Regions from separate parts of the Homo sapiens genome. Here region 2 is linked to region 1. Evidence: promoter capture Hi-C in 16 types of primary human blood cells and fetal thymus (Javierre and others, 2016). All regions are on one chromosome and are shown on one strand. Each heading gives the region's core, a stretch centred on a gene start or on the middle of the fragment in contact. The rest is flanking DNA. Distances are from core to core; before and after follow the strand shown.

Region 1 (7,532 bases), core at 3,256-5,755:
TTGTTAAATTTACATGGACCATTGAAATTTCAATTATGTAACCACTTGTGTGACTAAACAGTTGTCTTCCCGCTAGACTGTGAGCTCTGAGCAGACAAACATGAACATACGTTGCCCTCAAGCAGGTCACAGTCTACTGGGGAAAATGGTCCCATGATAGTGCTGATGTGCAAGGGCAGAGCAGTAGCTGCTGTACTATGGGGAGGTTGGGAAGATGTGGTGACCAGAAGCCTGGAATGGGCCCTTAAAGAATGAACAGGAGTTGGTTAAGAAGTATTGATGTGGGCCAGGTGCAGTGGCTGATGCCTGTAATCCCAGCACTTTGGGAAGCCGAGGCAGGAGGATTGCTTGAGCCCAGGAATTTGAGACCAGTTTGGACACTATGGCAAAACCGTCTCCACACACACACACACACACACACACACAAATACAAAAAATTAGCCAGAAGTGGTGGTACACGCCTATAGTCCCAGCTACCCAGGAGGCTGAGGTGGGAGAATCACCTGAGCCTGGGTGGTTGAGGCTGCAGTGGGCTGTGATCATGCCACTGCACTCCAGTCTGGGTAACAGAGTGAGACCCTGTCTCAAAAAAAAAAAAAAAAAAGAACAGGAGTCAGCTAAGAAGTGTTGACATGGGTTTAGTGACGTCTACAAGCATTACAGTCCTGATGGACATAAAATGTGAAGCAAGAGTGGTGAGGGATAAAGCTGGAGAGGTTGCCAAGGGCAACCAGGGAGAGCCTGGTCAGCCCTATGGATGATGGGGAGCCACCAAAGGTTTGAAGTGGGTGGGACATGAGATTTGCCTTTTCACTAAATTACTCCAGTGACTGGAATGGAGGAAAGGTCCAGAGGCGAGAAGATTAGAAGAGGAAGAAGGAAGACCAGTCAGGAGGCTGCTGCAATAATCCAGGAAAGAAAATAGAAAAATGTGAGTAAGGACAATGCTAGTAAAGATGGAGAGGATGAGACTGGTTCAAGATACAGGAGATGGAAGAAGGTGGATTTGGTGACTGAACAGGTATGTTGACTGAGGGCTAGAAAAGAATCATGGAAGCACCACAGGCTGCTAAAATAGGTGACTGCGTAGATGCAGTACTGCCAGCTAAGTGAGAAAATCCTGGAGGAGGAGCAGTCCTAGAGACAAGGTGGTAACAATGACTTTGGGCACGCAGAACTTGAGATGACTGTGGGCTGTCTAGGATAGCTGTCCAGCAATAGCTATCCTCAAACACTAAAGCTGGCCGGGCATGGTGGCTCATGCCTGTAGTCCCAGCACTTTGGGAGACCAAGGTGGGCAGACTGCTTGAGCCTAGGGGTTTGAGACCAGCCTGGGCAACATGGCGAGATCTCATCTCTACAAAAAATACAAAAATTAGTTGGGCGTGATGGTACACGCCTATAGTCCCAGCTACTTGGGGGCCTGAGGTGGGAGGATTGCTTGAATCCAGGAAGTGGAGGTTGCAGAGAACCATGTTTGCATCACTGCACTTCAGCTTGGGTGACAAAGTGAGAGCCCATCTCAAAACAAAGCAAAACACAACACTAAAGTTCAGGCAAAAGGTCTAAGAGTCGCCCTAACAGGAAAGTGGAGAAGGTGACCCAGGAAGAGTTTGGAAAGTGGACAGAGCAATGGGCTGAGGACAAGTGTCCTCAGACACTACCTGTAGGGGGCAAGCAGAGGAAGAGGAACTCATGAGACAGTTACAAAAGCAACGTCTGGAGAAGTATGTGGAGACTTAAGAATCATGTCACAAATGCCAAGAGAGTAGCGTTTCAAGAGAGGGAGTGATCACTAGCGTCAAATGCAGCAGAATGGTCCAGGAAGATAAGGGCTGAAAACCACCCACTGGATTTGGCAAGCAGTAGGTAAAGCTGACTGAGTAAAGATAAGTTTATAGGTGGTGGCTTTGAGGGTGGGGAGAGAGTTAAAGATCCTGTTTGTTCACCTGAAGTTTCAAAAAGTAGATGAGGTTGTCTCCTGGAAGTGAAAGGGATAAAGCGGCTGAATAGGGGACCCCAGGGAAGAGTTAGGTTTTGGGAAAGTTTCTGAAGTTAAGGGGAGGAGAAGCAAATTGGAGACTGAAGAGTATGTGGGCCCAGATGAGGTTGGGGAATCTGTGATGGAACCAAAAAGCATTTGGTGCCTTTCTCTTTTTAATTTCTTCTTTCTGGTAAGTATGTAGAGCAATGATATGCCTTTCTCTATCAACGTGTATGCACACGTATTTGTGTCAGTCATATTGCCCTTGACAACACACAGGAAGACAGGACAGGAGGAGGTAAGGAGCAGAGGAAAGCAGATGATAGCACCATCTCATAGCTGTGGTCTTCAGGGCAATGTGTTCTAAGGAGTGCTGAGAAGTGAGTGGTCCAGATGGAGCCAGAATGGGACATACAGATAGGAAAGCACCAAAAGACCAAGAAAAAAAATGGAAGGAAAAACGAACTGGGGGTGGTATCTAAGAGGTTTTCCCATCAGCCTCAGCACTTAATAACAGCTAATGCTTATATAGCACTTACTGTATGCTAGGTACTGTTCTTAGTGTTTTACATATATTAACATTTAACCATCACCACAATCTCATCAAGTAGGTATTGTTAGTATTCCCATTTTATAGATGAGGAACTGAGGCCTAGAGAGGTTAAAAACTTGCCCAAGAGGCCAGGCGTGGTGGCTCACACCTGTAATCCTAGCACTTTGGGAGGCCGAGGCAGGCGGATCACCTGAGGTCAGGAGTTTGAGACCAGCCTGGCCAACATGGTGAAACCCTGTCTCTATTGAAAATAGAAAAATTAGCTGGGCGTGGTGGCACATGCCTGTAATCCCAGCTACTCAGGAGGCCGAGGCAGGAGAATCACTTGAACTCAGGAGGCGGAAGTTGCAGAGCTGAGACTGAGCCACTGCACTCCAGCCTGGTAACAGAGCCAGACTTGGTCTCAAAAACAAACAAACAAAAAACAAAAAACACTTGCCCAAGTACATATAAGAGTAAGAAAGTAAAAAAAGGGAAATTACGTCTTTTCTTTCCAAAAAGGCATAAACAACTCCCACCTCCACCCCCACCCCAGCTTTTAACTGGGAATTCCAAGAATGAAGACGGAAGGTTGGCCAACTATCTATTTTTCATAAGTTATGATAAGACCAACCTTGAGACAAACACAGGAGGCCCTCATGCAACATCTGCTGAATGAATGTCAGACTTTCCTGCCAGGAAATTACCCAACAGGAAATATGCTACTATCGGGTCTCTTCTATCAAATGTTAGGGTGCAAGCCTCTCAGTCCTCATCAACAACATAAACAGCTCAGGGCATTCTCAGATTTGCTGGGCTATTGCTGAGAGGCTGTCCAGGAGTACCCAGGATAAGGGAGGAATAAAAACGCTCCCAGATGTCTGGGTGTGGTGGCTCACGCCTATAATCCCAGCACTTTGGGAAGCTGAGGCAGGTGGCTCACCTGAGGTGAGGAGTTCGAGACCAGTCTGGCCAACATGGTGAAACCCTGTCTCTACTAAAAATACAAAAATTAGCCAGGAGTAGTGGCACATGCCTGTAATCCCAGCTACTCGGGAGGCTGAGGCACAAGAATCACTTCAATCTGGGAGGCAGAGGTTGCAGCGAGCTGAGACCGCACCTGTGCACTCCAGCCTAGGTGACAGAGTGAGACTCTGTCTCAAAACAAAACAAAAATACTCCCAGAGTAGAGGACTTATTTAGGTGAGGTCAGAAGCTTCCTGGAGTTGGCCCTGAAGCAGGACTCATCCCAATTGCTTGAGGTAAATAGTAATCAACTTTTCCCACAATTCAGTTGGGCTGATTTTGACAAATAAGCATGAAATGAAACAGGAATACACATTGGCAAATTACCCACTGGCACAGCCAAATATCACTCATCCCACAGAGATTGTTCAGCAAGAAGGCCTTCCACTCTCTGGTGATTAATCTCTCTCTCTCTACTGCCCGTTGCATAGCCCCTACTTAGAACTCATCAGGCACCAGTGTGTATGGCTCATGCTCATCTCTGGCTTGGGTTCTTGCTTTTCATCCTGTCTAGGCAGGGTTGCCCTTGATGAGGTTCCTTCTCCACAGGGGCCTTCCCTGGTGAGTTACTGACTAACCAGAACAGACAAGGTGCCCCTGTACTTTCCTTTCACAGAACTTACCACAACGGTAACTAAACAACTATTTGTTTGGCTACTCGGTTAATGGCTGTCTCTCCACTAGACTGTGAGCTTTGTAAGGCCCAGGATTACATCTGTTTGGCTGAAGTCTGTATCCTCAAGACCTATCAGAGTGCTGGTTGTCGCATATACTCTAATATTTGAATGACTATACGAGTAAGTTTTTTTACTGCTAGAATCTTTTCCTTCAAGACCTGTATCAAATGCTCTCTCTTTCACGAAGAAACTGAATTTCCTGAGCTGGAATAAATTGCTCCTTCCTATGGATTCCTACAAAACGTTCGTTAACTCCAGCCTTTAAAACCATCTTTATTTCACTGTGGCTAGTATCACACTGGTTTGCGTCGAGGTCTGTCTTCCCGTGGACCGGTAGAGGCTAAAAGAAAGGCCCAGGTCAGCCTCATCCTTGAGACTTAGCGCCCGCAAAAGTTGGGCGGGGCTGGTTGGACCAGGTTGCATTGAGGCGGCGCAGGGCCCTGCTGAGGGAAGAAGGGCACGGGCCCGGCTTACCTTCTCTTTGACTGCTTGGTAGCTCTGCTGCAGCCAGCTCCGCCACCATCCCACGTCCTCCCTGTGGAAGACAGACACATCTGGCAGCACCGCGGTGCGATTCCTGCCCGCCCAAGGATCCGGTTTGTTCCCCGCTCAGATGTACCCTGCGGGCCGAGGCTTCGCAGACCGCTTGCCCACCCCCTCACAATGCGACTCCACTCTGCCCTTTCAGATCAGTCCACGCCCCCGCTGATCTCACGTTCCCCACCGGGACTCTCGCCCAGCACCCCAACCCTGGGAGAATTCAGGCCCCAACGCCTAGGAGCAAAACGACAAGCTCACCCTTCCGCCATCTTGCCTGCATGACATCACCACTATTTACTGACCTTTGACTTCCGACACGGCACCGCCCCCTCAAGGACCGCCCCCGAGGCGCTCGGCCCAATCCTCGCGCCGGCACCGCCCTCAGCCCAATCCCCTCCCTGCGCCATCATTAGGTCCCGCCTCCCTGAACTCTATCCAGTCTCTGTCCCGAGTTCGCCCTCAAACTCCGCCCCTGAACTCTCAGTTCAATCGTCATTCAGTCCTGTCCTCAGGCTCCACCAAGCTTGACTCTTTGTCACTGTCCGCAAACGTCGGGTACGGTGGCCTCTATGGACGATGATCAGCCGACAAGCTGGACTGCGGAGAGCTGGGAGCAGAGGGGAGGAGGAGAGATAGCTCGAACGTCAGGATCCCAGAGCGCAGGGTTAGGACCGCCCCCCTTTGTGAAACCAGCTGCGTAGAGGCTGCTTTGTGTCTCTTTGGGCTAATTCAATAAGCCCATATTGCGGGGCTGTGGCCCAGAGTTTGGAGGAATGTGAATAATTCAGAGGCGACTTAGATGCAGCCTTTGGAGGGCTTACGGGTTAATGGGAGACACACACATTCAGTAATCTCAACTTTCGGTGGCCCAGCTCAGAACAACGCCAGGTGGAGGTGGTCTGGAGAAATCCGGAGACCGCCTGGATTGAGTTCTACTGCGATTGGAAGGGAGATTCCACAGCCCACATACTTTGGACTTTAATTAAGGTCAGCCCCTCCACGTGTGCGGTAGATCCCATCGCCTCTTGTTTGCTTAAGGACATAGATCTAGTAATCCCCCCTTCATCTCTTTTCCCTCTGATGACTGCATTTATCCTTGTCATCATCCGTACTGCTGTTTCTCCCATCTCAAAGGCAAACAAAAACCAGCCCTCTCTATATCCCTCACCGTTTCCCTACTCCCCTTTACAGCAAAAGCGTTGCCTACTCACAGTCTGCAACTCCCCTCTCCTCCCATTCTCTCTTGAACTCACTGCAGTTAGGTTTTTGCCTCTCAGACAATCCTTTGAAATAACTTTCTTTTATTTATTTAATTTTATTTAATTTTATTTATTTTATATTTATTTGTAGCTCTGCTGCAGCCAGCTCCGCCACCATCCCACGTCCTCCCTGTGGAAGACGGACACATCTATTTTATTTATTTATTTATTTTTGGTCCTCCCTGTGGAAGACGGAAACATCTATTTTATTTATTTATTTATTTTGAGTCAGAGTCTTGCTCTGTTGCCCGGGCTGGAGTGTAGTGGTGCAATCTCAGCTCGCTGCAACCTCTGCCTCCCGGGTTCAAGCGATTCTCCTGCCTCAGCCTCCCGAGTATCTGGGATTACAGTTGTGCACCACCATGCCCGACTAATTTTTGTATGTTTAGTAGAGATGGGGTTTCACTATGTTGGCCAGGCTTGTCTCGAACTCCTGACTTCAGGTGATCTGCCCTCCTCAGCCTCCCAAAGTGCTGGGATTACAGGCATGAACCACTGCACCCAGCCTGACATAACTTTCTTAAGGTCGCCAAGAGGAATGGCCACTTTTCAGTTCTTGTTTTACATCCGCATCTTATTTGACACAGTTGACCACTTTCTTCATTTGGCTTCCAGGACATCATGCCCTCTTGACTTTCTTCCCCGTTCATTGGCATCTCAGTATTCTTTGCTGTTTTCTCACCGCCTTCTTGTTGCTGGAATGGGATATTCCCTGGGAGAAGGCTCAGCCCTTGGTGTCCTCCTCCTTTTTGATGTTTATAGTCATTCCCCAGATATTCTCATAAAGTCTCATGATTTTATTTATTATTATTTTTTAAGATGGAGTCTCACTCTATTGCCCAGGCTGGAGTGCAGTGGCATGATCTTGGCTCACTGCAACCTCTGCCTCCTGGGTTCAAATGACTCTCCTGCCTCAGCGTCCAGAATAGCTGGGATTACAGGCACCCACCACCACACCCAGCTAATTTTGTATTTTTAGTAGAGATGGGGTTTCACCATGTTGGCCGGGCTGGTCTTGAACTCCTGGCCTCAGGTGATCCACCCACCTCGGCCTCTGAAAGTGCTGGGAGTACAGGCGTGAGCCACTGCTCCTGGCCCATTTTATTTTATTTTTAAGACAGGATCTTACTCTGTCGCCATATTAGTCCATTTTCACACTGCTAATAAAGACATACCTGAGACTGGGCAATTTACAAAAGAAAGAGTTTTACTGGACTCACAGTTCCACATGGCCAGGGAGACCTCACAATGATGGAGGAAGGTGAAAGGCACATCTCACATGGTGGCAGACAAGAGAAGAGAGCTTGTGCAGGGAAACTCCCGATTTTAAAACCATCAGATCTCATGAGAACCATTCACTATTATGAGAAAAGCACGGGAAAAACCCGCCCCCACCATGATTCAGTCATCTCTCACCAGGTCCCTTCTACAACACGTGGGAATTATGGAGCTACAAGATGAGATTTGGGTGGGAACACAGAGCCAAACCATATCAGTTGCCCAGGCTGGAGTGC
Region 2 (7,532 bases), core at 3,615-6,114, 350 kb after region 1:
TGAAATGTTAAGACGGCTGCCACAGATGCCAAGAGCCAGGGATTAGGGGACATAAGAATGCTGGCTGGGACCTACATCTCCCCCCTCCCAACTTTCAACTATGCAGGATTGCTCTGCCCTCTGGTACAATTCCGGCCCCTGCAATTGGTCTAAGAACTGAGGGAAGCCACAGGTGCTCCCATCCCAAGGCTGTCTGTCCCTTCCTGGTCTTCCCTGTAAAATGTAAGAGGCTCAGCCACACCTTTGGCCTGGCTGCCCTGTCTGGAGTGAGGAGTCTTTGTGGAAGGAGGCCAGGCCCAGCAGAGGACAAAGCTGGCTCCTGTGGAAGGCAGGTCTCCCAAGTGGAAAGGGGGATTGGTGTGTGTGAGGGCAACATCAGGGTGGTCCTGGGCTTTCCCCAAACAGAGGGGCAAAGTTGGAGGGCCCTTAGGATGCTGCCCCAAGCCTGGTTTTTGCTGGTTCCTCCCTGGGGACAGGCTGGAAGTTTCCTTCCTGGTCAGGTGACAGCCTGGCTCCAGGTTGAACTTTGGGCCCTATCCACAGGGACTGCTGGGAAGTCAGCTCCCTCCGCTGCCTGCAAGGCCAGCAAAGACATGTAGCTGAGCTGAGCAATCATTATTCCAGGGAGCCGGATCCAGCTACAGCTGAGACACAGGCTAGCTCTTCCTAGGCTAGCCCTCCCTGGGTGGCTCAGAAGCATGTCTGTCCTTTAGGCCAGGGGGCAAGAGGGAGAGCTGGGCCTGCTGGTCTGAAGGTGGTCCGGGCTGGGGATGAGAAGTGAGAGTCTCTGGGTGCTGGAGTCAGGAGCAGTGAAGGGAATATAACCCTGAACTCTCCTCATTTCCCTTCTTCCTCTCCCTACCTGCAAATCAGAGGATCCAATCTGTGGGTTGATTCCTGGAAATTCTAGTTTGAGGGGAATTTCCCTGAGGAATTATATGAGACACTGGCAGGGCTATCTTCAGAGGCATGCAAACTGTGTAGTTATGCATAGCCCATGCTCAGAAAGGCTCTGTGCTTGGTTGAATGTTTTGCTGTTGCCTCTTTTTTTTTGAGACAGAATCTTGCTCTGTCGCCCAGGCTGGAGTGCAGTGGCACAGTCTCGGCTCACTGCAACCTCCACCTCCCGGGTTCAAGCAATTCTCTGCCTCAGCCTCCCAGGTAGATGGGATTACAGGCACCCGCCACTATGCCCGGCTAATTTTTGTATTTTTTTTTTTTTTTGGGATGGAGTTTCGCTCTTGTTGCCCAGGCTGGAGGGCAATGGCACGATCTAGGCTCACTGCAACCTCTACCTCCCAGGTTCAAGCGATTCTCCTGCTCAGCCTCCAGAGTAGCTGGGACTACAGGCATGCGCCACTATGTCTGGCTAATTTTTGTATTTTTAGTAGAGACAGGGTTTCTCCATGTTGGTCAGGCTGGTCTCGAGCTCCCGACCTCAGGTGATCCGCCTGCCTCAGCCTCCCAAAGTGCGGGGATTACAGGTGTGAGCCACTGCACCTGGCCTAATTTTTGTATTTTTAGTTGAGACGGGGTTTTACCATGTTGGCCAGGGTGGTCTCGATCTCCTGACCTCATGATCCGCCCTCTTTGGCCTCCCAAAGTACTGGAATTACAGACGTGAGCCACCGTGCCCGGCATTTTTATTTTTGAGACGGAGTTTTGTTCTTATTTTCCAGCCTGGAGTGCAGTGGCACCATCTCGGCTCACTATAACCTCTGCCTTCTGGGTTCAAGCGTTTCTCCTGCCTCAGCCTCCCGAGCAGCTGGGACCACAGACAAGCACCACCATGCCTTGCTAGTTTTTTTGTATTTTTATTTATTTTATTGAGACGGAGTTTTACTCGTCGCCCAGGCTGGAGTGCAATGGCATGATCTCGGCTCACTGCAACCTCCACCTCCCGGGTTCAAGTGATTCTCCTGCCGCAGCTTCCTGAGTAGCTGGGATTATAGGCGCCTGCCAGCAAGCCTGGCTAATTTTTTTTTTTTTTTTTTTTGAGATGGAGTCTCACACTGTCACCGGGGCTGGAGTGCAATGGCGTGATCTTGGCTCACTGCAAACTCCGCCTCCTGGGTTCAAGTGATTCTCCTGCCTCAGCCTCTCGAGTATCTGGGATTACAGGCGCTTGCCACCTTGCCTGGCTAATTTTTGTATTTTTAGTAGAGACGGGGTTTCACTATGTTGGCCAGGCTGGTCTCAAACTCCTGACCTTGTGATCCACCTGCCTCGGCTTCCCAAAGTGCCAGGACTACAGGCGTGAGTCACCTTGCCCGGCCTGCTATTGCCTCTTGAAATTCTTTTTTTAAAAGACAAAGTCAGGCCAGGCACAGTGGCTCACGCCTGTAATCCCAGCACTTTGGGAGGCCGAGGCGCGTGGGTCACCTGAGGTCAGGAGTTCGAGACCAGCCTGACCAATATGGCGAAACCCCGTCTCTACTAAAAATACAAAAATTAGCCAGGCGTGGTGGCGGGCGCCTGTAGTCCCAGCTACTCAGGAGGCTGAGGCAGGAGAATCGCTTGAACCCGGGAGGTGGAGGTTACAGTGAACCGAGATTGTGCCACTGCACTCCAGCCTGGGCGACAGAGCAAGACTCAGTCTCAAACAAACAAACAAACAAACAACAACAACAACAAAAAGACAAGATTTCACTCTGTTTCGCAGGCTGCAGTTCAGTGGCGCGAACATGGCTCACTATAGCCTTGACCTCCTGGGCTCAAGGGATCCTCCCACCTCAGCCTCCCGAGTGAGTAGCTAGGACCACAGGCACTTGTCACCACACCTGGCTAATGAAAAACAATTTTTTTTTTGGAGAGATGAGCTCTTACCATGTTGCCCAAGGCTGGTCTCGAACTCCTAGGCTCAAGCAATCCTCCCACCTTGGCCTTCCAAAGTGTTGGGATTACAGACATGAGCCACTGTGGCAGGCCTTGAAATTCTTAATAAGTTTTTTTTTTTTTTTTTTTTTTTTTTTTTTGAGACAGAGTCTCGCTCTGTCACCCAGGCTGGAGTGCAATGGTGCAATTTTGGCTCACTGCAACCTCCGCCTACCGGGTTCAAGCAATTCGCCTGCCTTAGTCTCCCAAGTAGCTGGGACTACAGGCATGCACCACCACACCCAGCTAAGTTTTTGTATTTAGTAGAGACCGGGTTTCACCATGTTGGTCTGGCTGGTCTTAAACTCCTGACCTCAGGTGATCCATTTGCCTGGGCCTCCCAAAGTGCTGGGAATACAGGCCTGAGCCACCATGCCTGGCACCTGTAACACTTTTCTCTTGAAAACTGCATTCTCTACATTCCCTTTCCTCACCAACTAACAGAGGAAGAGGCTGGGTTCTTAGGAGTGCTAGGCTGGGCCAAGAGCACCCAGAGTACAGGGCTGGTTCCTGATCCAGAATGGGTGCTCTGGGATTGTGGGCTGGATCTGAATGAATGGTGGTTAGACAAGAAACTGAGGCCCAGCATGGACACTGGGTGGTCTGCCCCAGGGCCCCCAGGTGGGAGAGTGTCAATGATGTCCCAGGTTCACCACAGCTGAGCCCCTGGGGACATGCAGGGGGCTAAGGCAGGTTAGGGAGATCCCACTGCACTCTAGTAATCCTGCAATGTTATGGTGAGTGCTATCTACAGTGCGCCGGGGCTGACTGGGCTGGGTGGCCCAGACAAATGGGCCCCTGCCCTCGTGGAGACCAGGACCAAGAGAAAGCCGTGTGACCAGAGTCAGATTGGGTGATTCTGGCCACCCCACTGGTATGGACATCACAAGGCCCTTCTGGGGACTGACGGAGGAGGTTCAAGGGTGCTGAACCCACAGCTGGTCCCCAGCGCAATTTCTAGTCCTTAGGGTTTGAAGCCTTGGACCAGCCTGAGACAAAACCCAGATGACCATCTTGGCTCCTCTCCCGCTGACCACCTCTGTCCCCTTCTGGCCTCCATTTCCGTTGTCGTGGGATCAGATGATATAAAAGGGCTTGGTCAGCTGTAATAGACCCAGAGGCCTGTAGGCAATGAGTACAGCAATTTCAGGATTCTTAATGTTTCCTTTCCTACCAGCCTCCCAGTCACACCTCTCACCTGCCCAGAGTTCAACCCTAATTAGTGTTGAGCATCTCAGTGGGAACTCCTGGTCCAGGCAGGAGTGCCCTGGGGCCTCAAATCCTAGTCCAAGGGTAAACGGAGGAAGGGCTATCCTCATCTTGCCACCAAAGGGTGAGGCAGGAACACAGTGGACCTGGGCCCCCGCTGCACACCGAAGATGGTTGGAGCCTGGAAGGTGTGGTAAAGAGCGAGGAGGCGACCCCAGTCAGCAGATGGGAGGGAAATGCCCACTGCGGGTCACAGGTCTTGGACGTGTCTGAAGCCTCTATTCCTGGCGCAAGCGCCCCAACACTGTCGGGGCTTGGAAGGAATTCTCCAAATTCCCTTATTCCAGGAAAAAATATTCCAGAATCCCCTGTCTATTCCCAGCCCAAACTTGGGATACCAAGTCTCCTGGGGTCCAACCCCAGCCTCTCGCTCCTCCTTTCCTGCGCCCTTCCCCTTTCCGTCCCCACCCCATACCACCCTCTTCCGAACAGATCTCCCGCGGTGCCCCCTGCGGGACGGAACCTCAGTGCCGCCCCCTCCCGGGCGGCCCCACGACCCGCCCTCTCGGGCCCCAGCGGGGGGCACGACCCCGGGCTCCCGGGACCCCCTCCTCTCGGGACTGGACCTCGCCCTCCGCCGGGACCGGGGGAGGCGGGGAGGGGCCGCAGGCAGCGGCGCTCCCGCCCTGCGGCCGCTCCCGCCCCGCTCCTTCCCTCCCCGCCGGCCTGCGCCCCGCCCGCCGCTCGGCCGGCCCCTCCCGCGCCGCTCCCGCCGTCCGCTCTCCGCGCCCGCTCGGCCTCCGCCGCCCAAACTTTTCTCCGGGCGCGCGTCCCCGGCGGCCGCCCCCGGCATGGGCACCGCGCCGCAGGGGGCCTGACCCGCCGCCCGCTCCGCCCCCGCCTGCCATGGCGGCCCGCGCGCCCCCCGCCGCACCTGCGGCCGAGGAGCCGGGGAACCCGGGCGGCCCCCCGCGCAGGAAGAAGTCCCGCTCCGGCGCGTCCGGCCTCCGCCGCGCCTTCAGCTGGCTGCGGGGCAAGCGGCGCAAGAAGAAGGCGGCGGGGGCCGAGGGCGCCGAACCGGCCGCCCCCCGGGCCAAGAAGGCGGAGGACAAGGCCAAGAGGGCCAAGGGCAAAGGCCGAGGTAAGGCGGTCGGCACCTGGGCTGAGCGCGGGGGGGCGTCGAGGGTGCGGCCGAGGGGGCTCTGCCGGGGGTCCGCGCGCGGCGTGTTGGAGGGGGGTGACCCCCAGGAGCTGGTGCTGGAAAGCGAAGAGGCCAGGGCTGAGTCCGAACACTTCCACCCTGCGCTGCCTTCCGCAGTTTCCAGACCCAGTCCTGCCCCGCTGTGAGGGGAGGGGACCCCCGGCTGGGGCAGGGATCCCCTGGCAGAGCAGGAAGTGCTGGTAGCCCGACTCCAGGGCGGTGAGGCGATTCCCCCTCCCCCAGGCTCACCGAGGTTCTGCCCTCTGCTGAGTCAGGGGGTCAGAGACTTAACGCTGGCCTGTGGCCAATGGGAGAGACAGGTGGCCTTGGGTCTCTGGTGGGGACCCTCTGGGTCTGGAAGGTCAACCGCACTCACAAAGAGTTTCAGCTCCAGCTGGATCTGGATTTCCAGCCCCACAAAGGACCTCACATGGAGCACAGTGTGCCCTGCCTTAGCTTCTTAACAGTGCTGGCTTTTCCCACCTGGCCTCCCTCAACGCTCACCTGGGCCAGGCCACAAACATCACCTCCTGGGGTAGTGAGCTCACCAAGGTGAACCAACCCGCCCCTCCCTATCACTCCTTCTTCCAGCCCTGGAGAAACATGCCAGTGTCGGAAGTGTGCTTACAGATGGGGGAAACTGAGGCCCAAGCTCAGTGGAGAGGCTGTACCTGGGCTGGGGTGGGTACTTAAAATTCAACAGCTAATTCTCAGTCTTTCTGAATTTGAGTCCCTGGGCTCCTCCTCTGGCCTGGACGGGCAGCCTGAAAGGCGGGGAAGCCGACCTGGCCCATCCCTGCTGGGGTCATTTTCAGTTCCTTTCTTGGGCCTTCCCTCATTTTCCAGTTTCTGTCTTCCTTTTGATGGGGAGGGCTTGAGTCTTTGCAAGAGGGTGGAGCTCCCTTGGGGCTTGCTGTCCTGGGAAGTCCACCTTTCCTAGACTGCTGCTGCAGTGCTGGAGGTGAGGAAATGGCTGGGTGTGCGGGCCCATCCCATTCTGCCTGTGTTTACCCTCCCAGTGTCCTTTAACCACCTCTTCTGGGAGAGTTAGAAGGAACACTTTAGGGGTCAGGAAGAGGGTGGAAAGCCTCATGTGTGATTGTATCCGGCTTGATCTTCCTTTTGGATAAGGGCCCTGCTTCCCTGCGGCACAGCCACACATAGAAGTGAGGGTGCTGGGGCTGGGGTGACTGGGCCAAACCCTGAGGGAGGACTGGATTTGGGTGAGGGGTGTTTCCAAAGCCTCTGCAGTCCTAACAGGACATGGAGTCTGTCCCAGGGCTGCCCCACTGGGATTCAGTCTGAAGTCATCCCCGTCTCATTCAAGAGGGCATTGCAGCAGGATGTATTGTGGTCAGACTGTCAGGATTGGCAGGCAGAAGGCTAGTGGACTAGCAGTGTATACTCCAGGGCAATGGACCTTTTTCCTCTGGGAGACCAGCCTGGAAGGCAGGGGGCTGGAAAAGCTGAGCCTGTAGGTCACTGCTCCAACAGCCTGGGTTTGGGTTCATTGGGTCAGTGGCCAGGCCTCCCTCTTGCCTTGTGTTTGGTATCAGGTGGCTCTGGGCTTTCTGGGCAGCATGTCGGCCTGATTTGAGCCCACGTGCATGGGTAACACCTCCTTGCCCCTGGCTGTTGTTTCTCCAGGTCTGGAGGTGGCCCTGGGTATGACTGGAGGAAGTCCTGTTCCCTTTTACTCCAGCCTCCTATTATTGCAACTGTTTCCTTGTCACCTGCCTGGCCCAACTTCTTTTCTGTTTATTAAGAGAAATAAATCTGATCCCACTAATCTCCACTGGCAACGCTGGCCAGGAACGGGAAGCCTGCAGAAGGCTTAACTCTTTCAGGGAGAATGTTCAGAATGGAGATTGGGAGAGGTGGGGAGGAGGGATACACAGGAGATTCCTGGGAGGTCAGGGATCTTTGCTGGGGAAGTCATTATCTCCTCCATTCCAATCTCTGGCTCAAAGACCTATGAGAGGCAGGTCTTGATTCCTCTAATCTGACTCTCCTACTTTAAGATGGAAAAACTGAGCTTGTCATGGAGTTTTGAGCACCAGTCTTCCATGATTCCCTTGCTGACCTCACTACCCTGCACAAACTTAGAAGAAGAGAGGAAGTCTGACATTTATTGATTAGTCTGAATATGTCAAGATCTTACTTGCAGATGAAAAAATTGAGGCTCAGGGACAGTGAGTGACTGATTTGACCAAACGGATTTAAACTCAAATCACCTGCCTCAAAAATC

The links. Contacts are between HindIII fragments. The CHiCAGO score rates a contact against its expected background, and 5 or more counts as called.
Region 2: a contact is called between the fragment with the promoter of NHSL3 here and a fragment that was not itself captured in region 1, in 1 of 17 cell types (M0 macrophages). The highest score is 5.7, in M0 macrophages.

Annotation. Positions count from the first base shown.
Region 1 is chr1:32,389,387-32,396,918 of GRCh38, forward strand. It overlaps BSDC1 (BSD domain containing 1), which reads right to left and starts at 5,055. Exons shown (of 11, transcript NM_018045.8): 1 at 5,018-5,055; 2 at 4,694-4,754. The coding sequence starts at 5,028. RefSeq lists enhancers at 4,096-4,793, 4,781-5,070, 4,794-5,489, 5,361-5,440, 6,188-6,883. The HindIII fragment of the contact is 1,550 bases long and covers 3,731-5,280 here.
Region 2 is chr1:32,736,966-32,744,497 of GRCh38, forward strand. NHSL3 (NHS like 3) reads left to right here and starts at 4,865. Exons shown (of 7, transcript NM_020888.3): 1 at 4,865-5,224. The coding sequence starts at 4,990. RefSeq lists an enhancer at 1-319. The HindIII fragment of the contact is 20,286 bases long and covers 1-7,532 here.